2 separate regions of the Homo sapiens genome follow, and region 2 is linked to region 1. The links are contacts of gene promoters, found by promoter capture Hi-C in blood cells and fetal thymus (Javierre and others, 2016). All regions are on one chromosome and are shown on one strand. Each heading gives the region's core, a stretch centred on a gene start or on the middle of the fragment in contact. The rest is flanking DNA. Distances are from core to core; before and after follow the strand shown.

Region 1 (5,517 bases), core at 2,167-4,666:
ATATAGCAATGAATAAAACATTCCTGTCTGCATGAAGCTGATATTCTGATAGAAGGCATCAGACATTAAACAAAATTAGTAAAATATGTGGTACGTATTAGTCCATCTATGTTACTATAAAAGAATATCTGAGACTGGGTAATTTATAAAGAAAAGAAGCTTAATTGGCTCACAGTTCTGCAGGTTGTAGAGGAAGCATGGTGTGGGCATCTAATTCTGGTGAGGCCCTCAGGAAGCTTCCAATCATAGCAGGTGAATGGGAAGCAGGCACGTCATGTGGCTGAGAGTAGGAGCAAGAGAGCAAGGGCAGGGAGGTCCCAGACTCTTAAACAACCAGCTCTCACATGAACTAACTGAGTGAGAACTCATTTGTCACCAAGGGGTTGGTGCTAAACCATTCACGAGGGGTCCACTCCTGTGACCCAATCACCTACCACCAGGCCCAACCTCCAACACTGGGAGCTAAACCATTCACGAGGGGTCCACTCCTGTGACCCAATCACCTACCACCAGGCCCAACCTCCAACACTGGGAGCTAAACCATTCACGAGGGGTCCACTCCTGTGACCCAATCACCTACCACCAGGCCCAACCTCCAACACTGGGAGCTAAACCATTCACGAGGGGTCCACTCCTGTGACCCAATCACCTACCACCAGGCCCAACCTCCAACACTGGGAGCTAAACCATTCACGAGGGGTCCACTCCTGTGACCCAATCACCTACCACCAGGCCCAACCTCCAACACTGGGAGCTAAACCATTCACGAGGGGTCCACTCCTGTGATCCAATCACCTACCACCAGGCCCAACCTCCAACACTGGGAGCTAAACCATTCACGAGGGGTCCACTCCTGTGATCCAATCACCTACCACCAGGCCCAACCTCCAACACTGGGAGCTAAACCATTCATGAGGGGTCCACTCCTGTGATCCAATCACCTACCACCAGGCCCAACCTCCAACACTGGGAGCTAAACCATTCATGAGGGGTCCACTCCTGTGATCCAATCACCTACCACCAGGCCCAACCTCCAACACTGGGAATCACGTTTCAACATGAGATTTGGAGGGAACCAACATCCGAATCATTTTCATGGTATGTCAGGTGAGATGTGCCATGGAAAAAAATAAAGCCAGAAAGTTAGCTAGGAAAGTGCCATGGTAGAGGGATAGAAAGAGGGAGGTATTATGTTCTGTAGGTGGTCAGGAGTGACTTCATCCAGAAGATTTTTGGAATTGGATCAAAATAGGATGGTTTAAAACAAGGATGTGGAATGAAGAGTTAGAATAAAAGGCCTGTTAGAAACAGGAAAGAGGAATAAAGACACAAGTGGGCCAGGCGTGATGGCTCGTGCCTGTAATCCCAGCACTTTGGGAGGCCGAGGCAGGCGGATCACCTGAGGTTGGGAGTTCATGACCAGCCTGACCAACATGGAGAAACCCCGTCCCTACTAAAAATACAAAATTAGCTGGGCATGGTGCCACATGCCTGTAATCCCACCTACTCAGGAGTCTGAGGCAGGAGAATCATTTGAACCCGGGAGGCGGAGGTTGCAGTGAGCTGAGATTGTGCCACTGCACTCCAGCCTGGGCAACAAGAGTGAAACTCTGTCTCAAAAAAAAAAAAAAAAAAAAAAAAGACACAAGTGAGTAGCATAAAAGAAGGATGTGCAGCTAGAGACAGAGAACTTTCTAGGTTCTGAATAGTGTGTCAGTGTATTTCTGATAAATCTTCTCCCCCTGTGCCCCCAAGCTGGTATGAATCAGTTTTCTGTTGACCAAAGAGCCCAAACTCATACATGTATTGGAGCAAAAAAAACCTGTGAATTCAAGGCCTGCCCAATGTGGGAGATGTTGATTACCTTAGAAAAACAAAGCTTGGTGCTTCTGATCCCAAGAATGCCGATATAATAGCAGAGTAGCATTAATTTTGTTGTGTCCTAGCATCCCAGAAATCAAACATGCAAGAAATATACATTTCTTCATTTTCTTTAAATCAGATTAACTCTGGTCCTACACTGGGCTGATGGAAAATTCAAATATAAGCATCATATGTTACCCCTAGTTCTGTTCTCCCTCTGCATCCCTCACCCCCAGAGCCACAAGAGAAATAGGGAGGCTTGCTGATGTCCGGACAATTGGGAAAAGGCCTCTAATCTCCAAGTGCCTTGGAGTCATCCAAGTCATCATTGATCAAGCCTTGCAACCTTCCCTGCAAGTCCCTGGCTCTCTGCTTCCATGGCACAAGAATAGAGAACTCTTTCCTGAGGCTAATGGACACCATGCTCCTTTGGGTGCAGTCATCCCTTCTGAAGTCACAACATCTTTGTGGAAAAATTAACATCTTGAAGCAGGGCCAGGTGTCCACTAATCCTGTGATATGCCAATCTTTTCAGTTAGCTTAGGCTTTTATAATAGACCACAAGAGTAAGTGACTTCCTTCTAGGAGTTTCAGCTTTCCACCCTGAAAAAACTCCCTCAAAGATTTTTTTTTCCTTTTAATAAATTGTTCTGCCATGTGTCTGTTGCACGAATGGGTGCAAGTTCAAATGGGACCCCATAACTGGTGATTGTGAGCAGCTAAGGGGCATCACTAAAATACTAGATATTAAAGTCCAAGAGTATGATGAGGACAAAGAGTGGTTGTAAAGAAACCTAAAAAACAATGAGGGCAAACTTTATCTGTCTCACAATAGTTATGATAGCATTTAATGTTTCTGGTGCAGAAGTAATTTTTCTCCACTCTGCCTTGTGCTGGAATCAAAACAATATTCCTCAATCTTGTTAGGGAGTGAATAACTTTTAGGGAGAAGGTCTCAAATGGGAAGTGGTTTAAAGTTTATGAATTGCAAGAATACCTTTTGATATCTAAACAAAGTGTACTAAGGAATTCAACCCACAGAAGAGCTGATATTCAAAATCAGAATTATTAAAAATTGTAGTGGGGTCAGTGGGGGTTTGGGGAGGGTGAACAGGAGTGCATGAAGAGCATCAAAATAAGCACAAGTGATTTACCATTGGCTTGGTTTCTTCGGGGAATTTGAAGAATTCATACTTATTTATACGTTTTCAAATATTTATTTAAGTGCCTACAACATGTGAGGCATTTGGGAATGTCTCAGTTAACGTGGTACATAAGTTCCTTGCTCTAATAGAGCTCACATTTGGATGTCTTCTAATTCTGAACCTGAATGTAAGAGCACAATACAATCAATGAAGCAGTGAGCCCAGGAAGCCATGGATCTTCACAAGCCTCAGGAAAAGTCAACATTTAAAATTTTCTATTTAAAGTCCAAGGGCACAGCAAGCTCTTGGTCTATATGGGAAGGCCATGGACTACAATTCCCACAAGTCCGTGCGACCTCTCCGTTCTGCGCAGCTTCGCGGTATGAGGAAGAGGGTCCTGTCAGGCGCACTCTTGTTGCATCATCAGCGTGCACCTCCACGATGAAACAGGTCTGGGCTACAAAAGTATGGCCGCTTCTGAGGCGGCGGTGGTGTCTTCGCCGTCTTTGAAAACAGACACATCCCCTGTCCTTGAAACTGCAGGAACGGTCGCAGCAATGGCTGCGACCCCGTCAGCAAGGGCTGCAGCCGCGGTGGTTGCGGCCGCGGCCAGGACCGGATCCGAAGCCAGGGTCTCCAAGGCCGCTTTGGCTACCAAGCTGCTGTCCTTGAGCGGCGTGTTCGCCGTGCACAAGCCCAAAGGGCCCACTTCAGCCGAGCTGCTGAATCGGTTGAAGGAGAAGCTGCTGGCAGGTACTGCAGCCCGGGTGGGGACCAGGCTGAGGCGGTCGCTGCGAGAGGGGAAGCACATTAGGCTTTTTGCGACGCTCGTGATTCAAGAGACAAAAGGAGGGGAAAGGGAGACTGACCATTGAATTAGCTCTGGACAGGAATCTCGGGCATCTCGGGCTTGGACTTGCCCTGGCACGAACTCTTGTAGCCTACTTGGCAGTTGTAGTTCTCAACGGGAGGAAAAAAATCCCGTACTTACACAATAAAACCCTGCCCTTGGGCGTGCAGACCTGTTTTCTGTAATCTGATCGATCCCTCAGGAGGCTTTTGTTGGGTTCATGTGGATGAACCCCAAAAGGAAGTACTGGTTCTGCACCCCTAAAGTTGCATTCCTCAAAATGTATTGGAAATGCAGATATACTTCGTTAACCAAGACTTAATATAGTCGTTTTCACATTTTAATGGGCCTAACAATTACTTAGAGTCTCTTGTACAAATACAGATTCCTAATCCCTGCCCTGTCCGAGATTGTGATTCGGAGAGTTCGGGGTATTTTTAGGAAACTGCAATTCTAAATAGTTGCTCCAGGTGATTCCAGTGTAAGTAGTTTATGGACCACATTTGAGGAACACTAAATATAACTTGGCCACTAAGCTGAGAGTGTTCATTTTATTGATTCGTTTATTCACGTACACTGGGAAAATAGTAGAAAAGCCTAGAGAATCACCCCGTTAATCAGCTCGGATGATTTCACACATAAAGCATCCAGGATCCTTAAGTTCATTGGACATATACAATAAGCCAGGTCTGTGCTAGCCTATAGAGACTTGAAGATGAAAGATAACTCTCTTACCTTAACTGAGCTGATAGCCTAGTAATTTCTGCACCTTGTGGTGGTAAAACTAGTTAGTTAGGTTATTCAAGGCCCTCCAGAGTTTGGCCGTATTCTGTCTCGCCATTAAACCAGTAACAGGGACTTTCTTACATTGTTTAGTGTCCCATGGAAAACTTTACACTTTAAAAAAATGCAAAAACAAATTATTCTGATGGGAATTATAACTGACAGTACAGATTTAAGTGTTTATGGGCAAATAGGTACACTCCTGCAGATGTTTAATTCCAGTATCACGACTACTTATTCTTTTATTAAAGTTTTGCTTTGTTGCCTGAAAGTATGGGTCATACAGAGGACGTCAAAGTGAGGAATTGCATCAAGGATATGTATTGTGGTATCATCATAGTTTTTTAGTTTTCCTTCATAGAACTGCTGCTTTCCTGATTTGTTAGCTAAACTCTGGGTTTCTTTTCTTTTTTTTTTTTTTTTATCCTTAAGGTAATGATTACCATTCTTTCAGACAAGTTTCTGACAAAGCCATATTCTGGCCTTCTGGCTAATCTGCCTCTAAGAACTGAAGTTTCTTGTTGAATCTTGGTTAAAATGTTTCAAGGCTCTTGCTAGGCTAGAACCTTTAGCTAGAGACATTCTCATTATCCTCGATTTCTATATTGCTTGTGATTGGCCTATTTTGTATTTATGTTAGTTAGGCTAGGGCTTTCCAAATGTCATTGTAATTGGCTGTCAGAATTGCTTGGGAAGTTTTTGTTTTTGTTTTTGTTTTTGAGATGGAGTTTCGCTGTTGTTGCCCAGGCTGGAGTGCAATGGCAAGATCTCGGCTCACTGCAACCTTCCCCTCCTGGGTTCAAGTGATTCTCCTGCCTCAGCCTCCCAAGTAGCTGGGATTACAGGCATGCACCACCATGCCCAGCTAATTTTGTA
Region 2 (4,647 bases), core at 677-3,176, 630 kb before region 1:
CTGGCATCCAGGTGTTGAGGTTGGTAGGAGGAGGGCCTGGAGAGGCCCAGGCCACTGCCTGGCCGGGTCCTTACCGCAGCTGTGAGCTCTGACAGGTCCACGTCGTCATACAGCTCCTCCTGGCGGTCCTGGCTAGGCAGGCCATCGATGTAAGTGTTGGGCTCTGAGAACTTTCTCTGCATCAGTCTGGAAACAGGGCGAGGTGGCACACATGAAGCAGCCGGGGCAGGGTGGTGAAAGCACCAGACTCCAAGGATTCCCAGTGAGGAGTGGTTGCCGTGAAAGTGGTGGCCACACAAGAGATCTGGGGGCTGACACTCACCTCCATGGATCTGAGGGCACCTCCTCCCTCTTTTCCCAGTGCCTTCTTCCTGAAATTCTTGGTTCGAGATTTTCCTCCCAGAAAGACAAGCTTCCCTTGCCCATACGCCTCGTCCTAGGATCCCTTTGCCATCTTCTCCCCCATTCCTCCCTTCTAGGATCTCCTTCCAGCAACCACAACAAAAAACCCCTTCTCATTTCATCTTCACAATACACTTGGGGTGGCGCAGGCCAGACACTATCCCCGTTTGGTCCATGAGAAAACTGATTCTGTTTCAGTGGCTCAGCCGGCTTCCACGAGACTGGCTCTACCACCCTGACCAGAGAACGCCCTCTCCCTCAGCCCTAGTTTGCTCATCTGGAAACAGAAGCACCACCCCCTGACCTGCTTTTCTCCAGGGTGTGCTGGAGACCCAGTGAGGGATTCACCAGAAGGACAAGTAGGAGGTCAGGAAAGGTGACAGCTCTGCCTGGAGGAGCTGGAGAGTCTAACTGCCTCTGAGGATGCCAAAGCTGCCCCCGGGGCCCGAAGCCTGGCTCGGCTCCTTGCTCTTAGCTCAGCTCCTGGCTCTTGGCCGGGCCTCCCTGAGGGCTACTCCTTGGCTTCACATTTTCCTGCTGCTGGGCAGAGTGGGGTGGGACCCTGTGCTCCCTGCTGCCCCTGACTCTGGCTGACCCAGGGCCTACAGCATGGCCAGGAATAAGAGAGTGTACGGAGGAAGGGTCCAAATTACTCACAAGAGAGAGTTTTTGGCCGCACTCACAATACAGGAGACCCTATCGGCATCCACATAGTCGTAGGTGAACTCTTCTGGGTCTGTCTTGGAGCCTGACTCAGAGAGCAGGAGACCCAGCCAGTGGCCCATTTCCTCGGAAGACTTGGCCTGGAACGAGGCCAAGAGAGACATAAGCAGGGCCAGGCAGTGCTGCCTGGTGCCAGCCCCTCCCCACCAGGCCATGACCGTACCCCTACCCCTGAGCCTGCCCACGAAAGCCTCTGTAACAGCCCGGGGCTGTGCTTCTCCTGTTCACCAGCCTATCCCACCCCCCAGTGGCCCCAGATAATATTTCCTGTCGTCAGTGACATCTTGATGCCACCTCAATAATGCTGTGGACTTTTGTCCCAAGGGCCATATGAGATGTATATACATTGTGTTTCTAGGAGGTGAAAACTTATCACCAGGTGGTCACTATTAAAAACTGTTAGTGACCACCTGTTAATTAATAGTTTTTAAAATGATTAAAAAATTGTATGTCTTTTAAGTTGACACTTGTATTTTATGAACAATGCATGTCATTCCCCCAATCCCATATACAACAAGACTTCCTGGATCCCCAAGAAATAACAACATTCAAATTTATTTTGTTCATGGCTTCAGTAAAGTCGGGACATCTTTTAAATACCTTACACTAGCTCAGCTGCTAAATCATCATCAAAATCCCAGTGAATTTGGTATTTTTTTTTCCAGGGGACAATGCATTCTAATCAAATGCATCCATTGGGTACCTCAATTAAAATGTCCACACTGTTTCTTACCTTTATAATGAGAAAAAACTGCCCATTTAATCAAAGCTATAGGTTTATTTTGATGAGGAAAATCAGCCCCCTTTGGTATAACCCATAGCTCCATCACGTTTGCTGCTACATTCTCTTCATCAAAGAGGCCGTGATGAGCAGAATTTGACATTTAGTTGGTTTCCTTTTCCCAGTTTTTTTTTATTTTAAAGACAGAATCTTGTTCTGTCGCCCAGGCTGGAGTGCAGCGGTGGGATCTTGGCTCACTGTAGCCTCTGCCTCCCGGCTTCAAGCAATTCTCCTGTGTCAGCCTCCCAAGTAGCTGGGACTACAGGCGCCCACCACCACACCCAGCTAATTTTTGTATTTTAGTAGAGACAGGGTTTCACCATGTTGGCCAGGCTGGTTTCAAACTCCTGACCTCGGGTGATCCACCTGCCTCAGCCTCCCAAAGTGCTGGGGTTACAGGCGTGGGCCATCATGCCCGGCCCCCACTTAGTTTCAACTGGATTCTAAATACAGCTTTTCATGGGCCTCCCCTAGTCCAGGCTGCGTCTCTGCCCTGGACAGCTGCGACAGCTTCCTAGCAGGTCCCTTCTTGCCCCCTCCGATCCACTCCCACCCCAGTAGCTGGAGGAAGCATCTCAAAACCCCGATCTGAGCTTGCCGCCCTCCCCTGAAAGCCATCAGGGCTCCGTTGCTCCTAGGATCAAGCCCTGTCCCTCCCGCTCCAGCCTGTCACCCAGACCCCAGTACAAGTCTATAGCACCCTCCCCACTTCTTTCCAGCCATTGTAGCCCAGCGATTGGCTGGGTAATTTGCTGAATAACATCACACTCCCAAACTAGGATGTAAGTGCCACAAGGACGGAGTCCATATTGCTCTTGTCCACCATATTCCTGTGCTGAGAAGATGTCTGTTGATGGGGAACCTCTGAATGGATGAATATAAGCTACAAGCTGGACCCTGGGAAGCAATTGCGATGTGGGTCTTTCAGCCACCAGAGGGCAGGATTGGAGCAAAGTTTGGATGAGGACCTCCACATCAAAGACTAAGTGAACGGACATTCACGGGCAAGTGTGTGCTTCCATGCGTGGAAGGGACTCGGTCTCCGCCTGCCGCAGCTTGCAAAGCGTTATGTCACTTCTTATTTTTGTAAACGTAACATCACATCAAAGGGAGGATGGGGAGCGAGAGGAATGTAATTGTATCACAAAGCGAATTTTTTCCCCCAGATAAGCTCTAACAGTGTGGTTTTTACGTACTGGGCCTAGAGGCTCTCCCAGCTGGTGATACCCAAACAAAACAACACCCACTTTGAATCCCCAGCAGCTTTTCCAGTAGCTCAGAGAACTAAAAATACTCCTTCTGCCCTAAGTGCAGGAAGTAGCGCATGGTTCCACTCTTATAACGCAACTACTCTGAGGTCAGAAAAGGAATGGAAATTTTTAAAAATGCAAACAATCTCAGGCAAACGAAGTAAAAATAACACGCGGGGACATTGATTCTCCCTTAGTAGCATTACAGTCCTGGAGACTGGCAGCAAACAGCCACCACCGCCACACCCTGGCTGGCCCTGCTCCCCCTGCAGGCCGGCGGTACCTCAAGCTTGGCCAGCTCCTCGCCCTTGTGGAGGATGCGGAAGGAGTAGAGGTGGTCGGGGCTGGGGTCTGGGACCACCTCGCAGCCCACCAGGCTGAGGGGTTGCTGGGCCACCTTGCTCCGGTTCCGGTCCTGGTAGAAGTGCAGGTGATTGTCCCTGACAGAGCACCAGCGAGACTTCCACTGGCTGTTCACCAGCACGTTCAGGTAACCTGCAGGAGGAAGTGCAGATGCAGGAGGGGACAGGGCTGCAGGAGGGGACGCAGATGCAGGAGGGGGCGGGGCTTCGGGAGGGCACACAGATGCAGGAGGGGGCGGGGCTGCGGGAGGGGAAGCGGATGCGGATGCAAGAGGGGACTGGGCTCCAGGAGGGGACGCAGATGCAGGAGGGGACCGGGCTGCAGGAGGGGACGCAGATGCAGGAGGGGACTGGGCTGCAGGAGGGGACTGGGCTGCAGGAGGGGACGCAGATGAAGGAGGGGGCGGGGCTGCGGGAGGGCATGCAGATAAAGGAGGGGGCGGGGCTGCGGGAGGAGACGTGGATGTGGGAGGGCACGCGGATGCAGGAGGGGATGCGGACGCAGGAGGGGACGGAGCTGCAGGAGGGGTCGCGGATGCAGGAGGGGACTGGGCTGCAGGAGGGAGCGGGGCTGCAGGAGAGAGCGGGGCTGCAGGAGGGGACGGCGCTGCAGAAGGAGATGCAGATGCAGGAGGGGACGCAGATGCAGGAGGGGACGCAGGTGCAGGAGGGGACGCAGATGCAGGAGGGGACGGGGCTGCAGGAGGAGATGCAGGAGGGGGTGCAGGTACAGGAGGGGTTGGGGCTGCAGGAGGGGACACAGATGCAGGAGGGGGCGCAGATGCAGGAGGCGACGGGGCTGCAGAAGGAGATGCAGATGCAGGAGGGGATGCAGATGCAGGAGGAGATGCAGATGCAGGAGGGGATGCAGGTGCAGGAGGGGACGGGGCTGCAGGAGGGAGCGGGGCTGGAGGGGACGGGGCTACAGGAGGAGATGCAGATGCAGGAGGGGGTGCACGTACAGGACTGGTCGGGGCTGCAGGAGGGGACGCAGATGCAGGAGGCGTCGGGGCTGCAGGAGGGGAGGCAGATCCAGGAGGGGACGCGGGTGCAGGAGGGGACGCGGGTGCAGGAGGGGGCGCAGGGGCAGGAGGGGACGCGGGTGCAGGAGGGGACACAGGTGCAGGAG

Evidence for each region. Contacts are between HindIII fragments. The CHiCAGO score rates a contact against its expected background, and 5 or more counts as called.
Region 2: a fragment that was not itself captured here is called in contact with the fragment with the promoter of TRUB1 in region 1 in 1 of 17 cell types (fetal thymus); the score reaches 5.4 in fetal thymus.

Annotation. Positions count from the first base shown.
Region 1 is chr10:114,934,779-114,940,295 of GRCh38, forward strand. It overlaps TRUB1 (TruB pseudouridine synthase family member 1), which reads left to right and starts at 3,417. Exons shown (of 8, transcript NM_139169.5): 1 at 3,417-3,761. The coding sequence starts at 3,476. RefSeq lists an enhancer at 3,249-3,788. The HindIII fragment of the contact is 6,581 bases long and covers 1,878-5,517 here.
Region 2 is chr10:114,301,280-114,305,926 of GRCh38, forward strand. AFAP1L2 (actin filament associated protein 1 like 2) reads right to left here. Exons shown (of 19, transcript NM_001001936.3): 11 at 3,440-3,651; 12 at 1,060-1,205; 13 at 75-186. Among named protein-coding and RNA genes, the nearest start is that of VWA2, 64 kb to the left of the region's middle. RefSeq lists a silencer at 3,690-3,739. The HindIII fragment of the contact is 3,033 bases long and covers 411-3,443 here.